3 separate regions of the Homo sapiens genome follow, and regions 1 and 3 are each linked to region 2. The links are contacts of gene promoters, found by promoter capture Hi-C in human tissues and cell types (Jung and others, 2019). All regions are on one chromosome and are shown on one strand. The core of a region is centred on a gene start or on the middle of the fragment in contact, and the rest is flanking DNA. Distances in the headings are between cores, read along the strand shown.

Region 1 (3,740 bases), core at 95-2,594, 70 kb before region 2:
GGGTGGATGTTATATGTTCTTATGGTGAAAATAATAACTATGTGAGATAAAGCATTTATTATTTAGCTATATTTAACCATCCCATATTGTATATATACTTCAAAACATCATGTTTTACACCACAAATACTTTTTTTAGTTATCAAACAATTTTTAAAATAAGTCATAAATAAAATTTAAACTTTTCAAAAATTTGAATTAACTTCAATAATTTGAGTGGGCCTGTTCCAATAAGATGAAGAAGTTACGAGCAAAAACATTTGAGGTTTCCTGGAAAAAAAAGAAACTGCCTCAGGATTGCAACATAGAAATCCAGTATAAGTTTCCAGCCTGCCCATACACCCTGCCAATTTTGCAGAATGTGAGTTTTGGAAGGGTGAGGGGGGTATATGTATTGCATACAGTTGATACTTGAACAATGTTGGAGGTAAGGGTATCAACCTCCATGAAGTCAAAAATTCATGGATAACTTAGGCTGCCGCAAAGCTTAACTTCTAATAGCCTACAGCTGACCTGACAACATAAACATTCTGTTAACACATATTTTGTATGTCATGTGTATTATATGCTATATTCTTACAATACAGCATAAGTAAGCTAGGGGAAAATGGGGTTCAGAAAATCATAAGGATGAGAAAATATATGTACTAGTCATTAAGTGGAAGTGGATCATCAAAAGTCTTCATTCTTGTTGTCTTCACGTTGAGTTGAGAAGGAGGAGAAAGATGATGGTTTGGTCTTGCTATATCAGAGCTGTAGCCGAAGAGAGAGAAAATCTCAGTATAAGAGAACCCGTGCAGTTCAAACCCACACGTTCAAGGGTCAACCCTATACACACGCATGAACGCATGCACACACAGACACACACACAGACATATATTTAAACTTTTTTAAAAAATGAATTATATGTGCTATTTAAAAAATAATTATACGTATATGTATATAGAGAGAATAACACACATATATACATATATATTCAACCTTTTTTAAAAAATATGTTCTTTTTAAAAAACAAATTATGTGTGTGTGTATATATATACACATATATTTGTGTGTATATGTGTATATGTGTGTATATATATTCCCTTTTTGTGGACAAATTGGATAAAATGCTAATGCTCAGTGAAGAGAAAGTCAAGGCAATCCTAATACTGTTTTTGCAAACCTCCCTGAAAGTCTCTTTTCCACTCTCTTTTCACATTCCCTTCTTATATGCTCACCACACCAGAGCTCAAAAAGATTAATATGTGCAAATTTAGTGGATTAAAATGAAATAAAGTCATTATTCCACAATTTGGGAGGTATAAAGTCTGAAATGGGTTTCACTGGGCTGAAGTGCAGATGTTGACAGGTCTGCATTTCTTTTAGAGGTTTTACTGGAGAATCCACTCTTTCATAGTTTCCATCTTCTACAGGCCTCTCTTGAATTTCTTAGTTCAAGGCCCCTTCCTACATCCTTAAAGCCAGCAGAGAAGCATCATCTTCAAATCTCGCTGACTCTGATCCTCCTGACTCTGTCTTTCATTTATTGAATCCCTGGTGGTTACAGTAGCTCCAGCCTAATGATCCAGGATAATCTCTTCATCTCAATCTGTGCTTTGATCTCATCTGTGAAGCCTCATTTGCCATATAAATAAACATATTCACAAACTCCAGGTATTAATAAGGGGACTTTTTTTTTGAGAAGAAATTATTCTGCCTGCCATGCTATATAATAATTGTTTTAAAAGTTTAAATCTTACATTCAATAATATTATTATTAAGAAAGAATTTATGATACAGAGCTCTATAAAATGAAACATGAAACAATATAAAATATTAATTGCAACACAGTTAAAGATCATACAGTTTATAAAGTAGCAAAAAGAACAACAACAACAACAACATCCGGTTTTCTATTGAGGACCAACAAGGAAAGAACAACTATCTACTCAGCAGGTTTCAGTATTTGAGCCATCATTTAATTAAATATATTTGGAATCCTATAATCTCCTGTTCATCCAAATATAGATTTTTATATTCCAAATGACAGAACCTTGAGATATTTTATAGATTTTTACCCCATTTTAAAATTACTGAAATGGATAAAAACAAGAACAATAACAGAAAAACACCCTGTCAATCTAGACTGTTACACTGGATGAAAGAAATCTTCAATTAAGGCAAAACAACCTGTACCTCAAAAAAAAAAAAAAAGCTAAAAGAAATCATCACCAGCACACCTGCATTACAAGAACAACTAAATAAAGTTCTTCACTCTGAAGGAAATGATACCAGTTAGAATTCTAATTAGAAATAAACAGCAGAGAAAAAAACATAAATGTGTATGCGTGCATGCAGGTATGTGAGCATGGGAGTGAAAATGTTTGAAGTAACAACAGTAACAATGTTTGTGAGTTTTATAACATGAATTGTTAGGATTTTAACATATGAAAACAATCTAAAAAGGCTGGAGTAAATATGATTTGTCCATTCTACATTTATTGTCTGGGACATAGTAAAATTTATAATTTTAGATAGAGTATATTGTTACAAATACATTTCGGAATTTCCAGGAAACCGTTGAAAGACTGATAATTAAAGTGTAACAAAAAATTTAATAATGGAGAAATGAAGTAATTTCAAAACATTTTAAAATAATGGTTGCACTGATACATGCTCTTTCCAGTCATGTATGAAAGTAAAAATTGATATGTAGGCTTTCCAGCACTTGATATAATCAGATGTTCTAAATTTTGACACTGGGATAATTAGGAAATAATTTTTCATGAAGGTCTTAATTTATATTTCCCTATGAGTAACGAGGCTTGATTTCATTTATTCATATGTTCAATCACTACTTTTATTCCTCCTCTTTCAAATTTCTTCTTAAGTATTTAGTTCTATTTTGGGTATTAATTTATAGAAGTAGTTTGCATATTTTGGATATCTTTCAGATATATGGGTTGCCAATATGTTTTATAAATTGTAGCTTTTAATTTTATCAGCTGAATCTTTCAATAAACAATTTTGTAACTGTAATGTAGTAAAACTTATCAACTATTATTTATCTTACCTAAGGTTTTATAAGAATATCCTTCTTGATTCCATTGATTCTTGTGTTTTTTGTAATGGACACTTCTTTGCATGTAAAATTATCTTTAATTTGGGGTGTTGTTAAGATCTTCACATTTTTGATACCTATGTGTGTGTGTGTGTGTGTGTGTGTGTGTGTATATATATTGTGTGTGTATATATTTATATATATATATAAATATATACACACACAGACACACACACTTAGGTTGTCTTCAGAATTTATTTATTTTGTTCATCTCCATCAACATTTACATCATCATAAAAGCAGTGTTATTTCTTTGAAGCTACATATATATATATATATATACTTGACTTGCATCTCTTGCAATTCTCCGTCCCTGTACTCCTCTTACTTTCTCAGGAAAGCATTTTTTAAAATTTGTCTTGTCTCTCTGTCTCAATTTTCCTCCTCTCTTTCTTCCAGTGGTGTAGGCCAAAATAGCCTGGAGTCATTTTGAATACTCTCTTTTTTCACATTCACATGTAATTCATCAGGACATATGTCACCCTCTCTAATGCTAATGTTCTAATCTGAGCCACCATCATCTCTCACATGGATTAATATAATAATCTCCTAATTAGAGGTTCGCTTAAGCCCAGGAGGCGGAGGTTAAAATGAGCAAAGATTGCACCACTTCACTCCCGCCTAGGGGACAGAGTGAG
Region 2 (4,095 bases), core at 1,217-3,716:
ATAAATATAAATTTACAAAAATATATGGTCAATTTTAAGTGGCAAGTATGCTACTTATGTTTTCAATTTAAATTTAAATTTGCAGGTATCAAATTATGGCCATAATTGATAATGACAATTATATTTACAATATAAATGTCAAATATATTTCCCTACATGATATACACTTATGATGATACCCTCTCAATAGATAATTCTAATATGAAAAAAAAATATTTGCAAACATTTGGACAAATGTGACTTTCACATCCAACTCCATCAAATAATGTTTAATATTAATAGACTTAATTCTGGGGAGATATATTTGATCAATCATTTAATTTTACAATGGCCAAATGTATCTATGTAATTAAGTGCATGCATCTGAGTGCTGTCTGAAAGCATGTATACACATATGACCATGTGTTGCTTAGTATAGACTAAAACATAGATACATTTGTTCATGTGGGTAAAAGTTTTGGCTCATATTTGATCACTCTTATGTAATTCACTTATATATTTTCTAAGCAATAGTCAACATTCAATGCAAATAAAGAAACAGATTAATAACTGAGGCTTTTCCTTATATCTATGATGTTTTCCCTCTTGTGTTTTTCTGTTCTGAACTGTTCAAGTCACAGTATTTTCTAAAATTTCATTCTCTTGCAGAGCATCTTATAGAGACACCTAGTGGCAAAAGGTAATGGTGGCTTCCGGGACCATCCTTAATGTTGAGTTAATGGCAGAAAGTTTTCATCATTTACTTATTTGAACCACAAGAGGTAAACTAGATTATTAGCATAAGTGTTTCTAACAAAACTGTAACCTAAACTAATTCCAAACATATTTAATACTTCTTAGTTGAATAATATTTCCTTTAATTAGAACAATAAATATTTAAAATAAAAATAATACAAAACCATGAATTAAACTTTGCTATTGAATGAAATTATAAAGATTTAGAACAGTGATAAAATATAACAGCTTTATTTCAGCTATTTTGAAAAAATCAATAATCGATTAAGACAATTTAGGACCTTTAAGAACTTCTACAAAGTTAATCGATATTGAAAATTATGTTTCTGATAGGACTCAATATTTATATTCCAAAGGCTTCTGGCTGTAATTCCTATATAATTTTAAATTTAAATATTTCATTTCATTTTGAAAATATAAAAGTAATTTTAAACTTAAAATAAATTTTCTGAAATGTTTATATAATGTTAAAAGTTAATGACTGAATAAAAAATACAGAAATAAGCCTTTTGTGGATGACGTGTAAGTTATATTTGTTGATGCAATGTATCTACAGCTAGTGGCTATCATTCCTAGGTCAAATGCTTCTAAATTTAATGAAACGTTCATTACAAGATTTTGTTTTTATTGTCTGAAATTACATATTACTTCTTTCCTTCCTCTCCCTTGAATATAACCCATACTTAAACAAAATTGCTTCCAAATAAAGTTTTTATGGTATAAAGTAAAAATATATATATTCACACAACATACGCAGGGGAAAGTTCAAAAAAGATTGCAGTACCTCAGGAGACTGCAATGTTCATCACCTGAGATATATATACATCTCAGAACATAGACATATTATCAGACTCTATATCAATATTAAACATATGATTAACCAGATTATAACACAGTATTATCCCAAATATTACTAAGAATAAAACAATATCAATAATAATTAAGACGTAATTAATTGCAAAATAAAGTGGGTAAAATATATTTACATGGAGAAACTAACTACATAGTTATCAAAGGAACAGGCACATGTGCACTCAGCCTGCACTGGGTCACTTACTATTATCAACTTTTCTCTTATACCCGGGATGAACGGCAGGTCTAATATTACAAATATTGAAAACATGTCTTATGAAAGTAAAGACCCCTTTTTGGGGATGGAAGTGTCTGGTTTCATGGAAAGACCCAAGAATACTTACTGTAGAGATGACTCTAGTGGAGTTTAGCAGATGACTCTTCAAGAAACTCGCTTTCTATCGATATTGCATTTACTTAGGGGTTTTCCAGCTTTTTAGTACACACCAGATGTATTCACAAACATTCCCTCTGAAAGTCTTTCACATTCCCTTGTGTTGCCTAGACACACCTATAAAACGTAATTCTATTAAAGAGAAAAGAAAAGTAGCGCCCTTGTTTGCAGCTAGGAGGAACCACTCCCTTTTCCAGGATCCTTAACAGTAAGTACACGAGACAGCAGCATTCTGAATGGCAGGAGGAAGGCAGGCGATCAGCACAGGGCTGGAATCATCTGTTCCTGACCACCAGCAAGCCTGGCACTGCCGGGGTTATTTCCACTCCTCCCTTTCCCAATCCGAGAATTGCACAGTCCCACGCTCGAATTACACACATGGTCCAAGACTTCTCTCTCTTCCTACGAATGTGACATCCAAGGGGGCCCCGGTTGCGCCGCCCTAGCCCAGGGACGCCTTCGCCCTCGGCTGCCATCTATCGGCCACCGAGCGCCCGCTTCGCCCCGGGCCCATCATGTCTGCTGCAGCTTGGCTCGCACCAGAGGCGCGACAATAAACAAGTGCACTGGACTGGGCCCTGCACCCGCTCCGGAGCAGCTGTCTCAGAGACCCGGTGTTGCTTACCGCGTTGCCACCTCCTCGGCGCCCGGGAGGAAGACGCAACTTTCTCGGAGTTTTTTTTAGAGCCACCGGGCTGCCAGGACAAGCCACAGGCATAGAACGACGCGGTTGCTGCCCGCCCCCCCCTTCCCCCAGAAACCCCAAAGGATGTCGGTGATAGAGAGTTCCAACTAATGACGATTGTGCGCCGCATCTGGGGAAGGGATACAGAAAAAAACCCTGCAAACACCGTGAGGATGAAACTGCCAAAGGGATGCAAGAGCCTCTCAAATACTAATTAGGGGCCGCGGCGGCGGCGGGCTCGGCGCGGAGACAGCGTCGGCGGGATCCCAGCGCGGTGGTCGCCGCTGCGCTGGGGGGCGGAGGACAGCGCAGGAGCTGCAGCCGCCGCCTTCGCTGGAGCAGCCGAGGGGCCGGTGCCACCTTTGCTCGCCCCCTCACTACCATGTACAGTGTGCGCTGCAAGAAGAAGGCGGGAGATGCATGCACACCCCCGCGACCCGCTCCCTCTGGCTCGTCCCCCGGCGTGCGCCACTGACCAGGGGGGAATGTGGTGAAGACGGCGAGGAGGAGAGCCGAGGGGGGAGGGGAGGGCCGGCCGGCGCGAACCCAGGCCGGAGGGTGCGAGGAGCCAGAGGAGGCTGGAGGGGGCGGCGGCCACAGCTGGGTCGGAGAAAGTTGCCCCCTATGCAGATGGCAACTGTGAGTACCCCTGTGGGGGGGAGGGTGCAGCGAAGGCTGCCAGGGACCCCGCGATCGCGCCTTAACACGTATTGGAGCGAGTGTGCGAGTGATCATGAGTGTGAGCGGGTGCGAGCGCTCGGCGGGGCTGACCGTCACGTTGGCGGGGCCGGCGGGGCCAGGCAGTCTTCTCCGCGTCCCCCTCCTCCCGCTCCGTGCCTCCCCTCCCAGCAGCTCCCCCTCCCCGCCCCGCCCGGCTCCGGCTCCCGGCCCCTACCGCGAGGCGCCTCTCCAGCCGGACCTCCGCCGCCCCCTCCCGCCGCCTCCCTATCCCGCCGCTGCAGAACGCCCCCCGCTCTCCACCCCCCAACCCTGCTGCCCGCTCCGACTACCGCGGAGAGCACCGGGGAGAGCCTTTTGGGGAGCCCCGGAACCCGCGGTCGCCACCGCGGCGGCGGCCCCAGGCTGGAGGCGTCCGGGCGCCTCTTTCCTCCAGCCTCTGGGACTGCGCTGCTCGCAGTCTCCTCGCCCTGCCTGGGCTTGAGAAACCTAGTGCATACCCCAAAGAGGGTTTTTGTGTATGTGTGTGTTTTTAAAGGGTGGCTATGATGACTGGGCCTTGGAGATGTGAGACTGGGTAAGTCTATCGTTTACTTTGCAAAAGAGGTGTGTGTGTGTGTGTGTGTGTGTGTGTGTGTGTGTGTGTGTGTGTGTGTGTGTCTATGTGGCGGGGTGGTTTTCCTTCCCTCTCCTCCCTCCCCTTCTTCCTCCGTTTTCCCTTCCTTCTCTTTGGGGCGGGGTGGGGGAGGGG
Region 3 (3,661 bases), core at 980-3,479, 110 kb before region 2:
AATTTATAAGCAACAAAAATTTATTGCTCACAGTTATGAAGGTTGGAAAGTCCAAGTTCAAGGTGACAGCAGATCCAGCAGTAAATGAGGGTCTACCCTCCATTTTAAAGATGGTGCCTCATTGCTGTGTCCTCTCATGGTGGAAGCAACAAACAAGCTCTCTCCAACATCTTTTATAAGGACACTGATTCCATTACCTTATCCCTTATCCCTCCCACATCCCTTATCTCCCAGTATGATGGAACTGGAGATTAAGTTTCAGTACCTGTATTTTTAGAAGGCACAACCATTTAGATCATAGCATAACATGTAAAAAATATTCACACTATATTTTACAGTGAAAACACTCATATGCACACATGAACAAAGTAACTACATGATTTTGCTAATATTTTCATGAGAAGATCAATTGTGAAAAGTTGTAGATATACCATTTCAGAGTCAATATCTTCACTTTTTTTATTTACAAACACTATAGAATACATTTAATAAATAGAACACAGTTTCTAGACCTAAGAAGTCCAAAAGTGGGAGTGAAGTTGGGAACAAGTGGTGGGGGCAAACCTGGAACATCCTTTCCTCCACCACTACACTGATTCAGCAATGAACACAGAAATGTTTTCCTAAGAAATCCTGAAGATAATTGAAAGGCTCTTTCCCCAGCTGAACAGGACCAGATTTATCAAAGCCAGTGGGGAGACTACGAACACCCTTTCACTGGAATCACTGTCCCAAGCATAGAATCATAAAATTGGAAAGACATCCCCTCATTCCCAGCTTCTCTCAGGGGAGGGAAAGAGTTGGTCCATACATCCAATGCCATAGATTCTTGCAGGAAGCTTCCTGGAGGACTGGCTTTTGTTTTGTGAGGCTTGGAATGCTGATGAGACCAGCACAGTCAAGCCACATTGAAGAAAAAATAGATGGTGGCTTGTGCTGGCAGTCACCATAGCTCTTCCTCCCAGCTCAGCACAGAGTAAATGGAAGAATATTCCTAGCTTCCAGCTTCTCCCCTGGGGAGGAGAGTAGGTCCATGTGTCCAATGCCCCAGCTCCTCCAGAGGGACCCAAAGAACTGGCTTATATCCTGCCTATCAAAGAGTACTGATGAATCTGGCATTAACTAGCTGCCTGGGGTAGAACAGAAATGAGGTGTGAGCTATCATTCACCACAACTTCTCCCCCTAGGATCAGCACAAAGAGAATAAAAAAAAAACCCAGCTCTCAGCTTCTCTCTGGGCAAGTGAAGAGTTGAATGGTGCATCCAATGATCCAAAATTTCTGGTAGCTGCCTAAGGAACTTGCTTTTATCTTACTATCCCATTGTACAGATAGGACCTAGCTTACCCTGTACACCTAGGGCCTGCAAAGAACAACGAAATGGGATTGGAGTAGGACAGAGATTTGAGAGGCCCTCAGAATCTCTGGCTGGGCTGATTGATAGGAGTCTTCACCTATACAAGACCAGTCCATCAAGATTGGGATATGTGGCTTCTTTGTCTAATGTAGAGACACCAACACAAAAAATCAATGAAGATGAAGAAATAGGCTAATATGCTTCGAGTAAAAAAGCAAGGTAAATCTCCTGACACCAACCCCAATGAAATGGAGATGTACAATTTACCTGGCAAAGAATTCAAATTAACAGTAATAAAGACGCTCAGTGATGTCAGGAAAACAATACATGAACAAATTCAGAATTTCAACAAAGAGATAGAAAACATTTTTTTTAAAGGAACAAGCAGGGCCAGTGCGGTGGCTCAGACATGCAATACCATTGCTTTGGAAGACCACAGTAGGCTGGTCACTTGAGGCCAGACCAGCATTGCCAACATCGAGTTCAAGATCAGCCTGGCTATAATAGTGAAACCCAGTATCTACTAAAAATACAAAAATTACCTGGGCTTGGTGGTGCACATCTGTGATTCCATGTACTCAGGAGGCTGAGGCAGGAGAATTGCTTGAAACCAGGAGGCAAAGCTCACAGTGAACTGAGATCTTGTCACTGAATTTCAGCCTGGGTACCAGAGTGATACTCTGTCTCCAAACAATAATAATAATAATAATAAACAAATAAAGGAGCAAACAAATAATAGAGGTGAAGAATACAATAAATGAACTACAAAAATCACCTGAAAGATTCAAGAGCAGATTATATCAAGCAAATAAAGGATCAGTGAACACAAAGCTAGGTCATTTGAAATTATTCGGTCAAAAGAGCAACAGGTAAAAAAAAAATTAAAAAGAAGAAAACTTAAGTAACTTATGGGGCATGATCAAGTTAACATTATAGGATTTTCAGGAGAAGGAAGCAAGAAAGAAACAGACAGATAATTTAAATAAATAATGACTGAAAACTTCCCAAATCTGGAGAAGAAAATAGACATCTAGACCTAAAAATTGCAAAATCAAATGAACCCAAATAAATGCACATAAAGATACATTATAATCAAATTGTCAAAAGTCAAAAGATGAATTTTAAAGCAGCAAGAAAGAAATGATTTGTCATGCACCAAGTAATCTCTGTAAGACTATCAACAGATTTCTCAGAAAGAATATTTCACACTAGAAAGGAATAGATTATGTATTTGAAGTGCTGACAGAAAACGTAAAACTGCTAATCAATAATACTATATCAGGCAAAACTGTCTTTTGAAAATGAAGGAGAGAAAAAGTATTTGCCAGACAAACAAAAGTGAAGAAAGTTGATTATCACTAGACATGCCTTACAAGAAATACTAAAGGGATTTTTTCATGTTAAAATGAAAGGATGATATACGGCAAGGTGGTAGCATAAAATATTTTCTATATATTTACTTTTTAAATGAGTATCGTATTTCTTACTAATATTCATTAGTAAAGACAAATGTATAGGTTCTGTATATAGAATAATATAATGGTAAATTACTTTTAATCATTGTACAAAAGTTAAAAGACAAATTTTTTTAAAACTTTAACAATAAATATGATACTACATATACAAAATAAATAGATGGAAACTACAAAAATAGTGTAAAGTAGGGTGAGGAAGATAAGTAAGACTGTCTTCGGTATGTGATGAATCTTAAGTTGTTATCAGCTTAAAATAGGCTTTTATAAATATATTTTGAGTTTCATGATAACGAGAAATAAAATATGTATAGAAGATATACAAAATAAAAAAGAAAGACATCAAAGCATATCAGTATAAAACATCAGCCAATACAAAGGAAAACAGCAAGAAAGGAAAAGATGGCCAACTACAAGATTAACATAAAACTATTAACAAAATGGCAATAGTAAATCTTTCCTTATCAATAGTTACTTTAAATGTGAAGAGATTAAACTCCTCAATCGAAAGACAAAAAATAATGTCAGAATGAGAATATAAAAGAAAAAAAAACAACTATGTAATGTTGTCTACAAAAAAATCCTCTTAGGTTTAAAGATACTCATAGACTGAAAGCAAAGGGATTAAAAAAGACAGTCCATGCAAATGGTAACTAAAAAAAAGAGCAGAAGTGGCTATTACTGTATCAGACAAAATAGACTTTAAGTAAAAAGCTGTCACAAAAGACAAATAAGGAAGTATATAATGAAAAAAGGGCTGATTCACCAGGAACATGTAACAATTAAAAAATATATTTGGACCCAACATTATAACACCTAAGAATATAATACAA

Evidence for each region. Contacts are between HindIII fragments. The study calls those that stand out against the background at their distance.
Region 1: a fragment that was not itself captured here is called in contact with the fragment with the promoter of SLITRK5 in region 2 in 3 of the 25 tissues and cell types used here (dorsolateral prefrontal cortex, hippocampus and lymphoblastoid cells).
Region 3: a contact is called between a fragment that was not itself captured here and the fragment with the promoter of SLITRK5 in region 2, in 4 of the 25 tissues and cell types used here (dorsolateral prefrontal cortex, heart left ventricle, mesenchymal stem cells and 1 more).

The regions. Positions count from the first base shown.
Region 1 is chr13:87,600,309-87,604,048 of GRCh38, forward strand. All of the region lies in intron 1 of MIR4500HG (MIR4500 host gene), which reads right to left. Among named protein-coding and RNA genes, the nearest start is that of MIR4500, 17 kb to the right of the region's middle. The HindIII fragment of the contact is 6,087 bases long and covers 1-3,740 here.
Region 2 is chr13:87,668,905-87,672,999 of GRCh38, forward strand. SLITRK5 (SLIT and NTRK like family member 5) reads left to right here and starts at 2,467. Exons shown (of 2, transcript NM_001384609.1): 1 at 2,467-3,305. LOC124900338 (formin-like protein 5) reads right to left here and starts at 3,463. Exons shown (of 2, transcript XM_047430855.1): 1 at 1,932-3,463. The coding sequence starts at 3,401. The coding sequence ends at 2,877. MIR4500HG (MIR4500 host gene) reads right to left here and starts at 2,059. Exons shown (of 6, transcript NR_033829.1): 1 at 1,932-2,059. RefSeq lists an enhancer at 2,194-2,695. The HindIII fragment of the contact is 26,915 bases long and covers 1-4,095 here.
Region 3 is chr13:87,563,933-87,567,593 of GRCh38, forward strand. The region is part of intron 1 of MIR4500HG (MIR4500 host gene); the gene reads right to left. Among named protein-coding and RNA genes, the nearest start is that of MIR4500, 53 kb to the right of the region's middle. The HindIII fragment of the contact is 4,943 bases long and covers 1-3,661 here.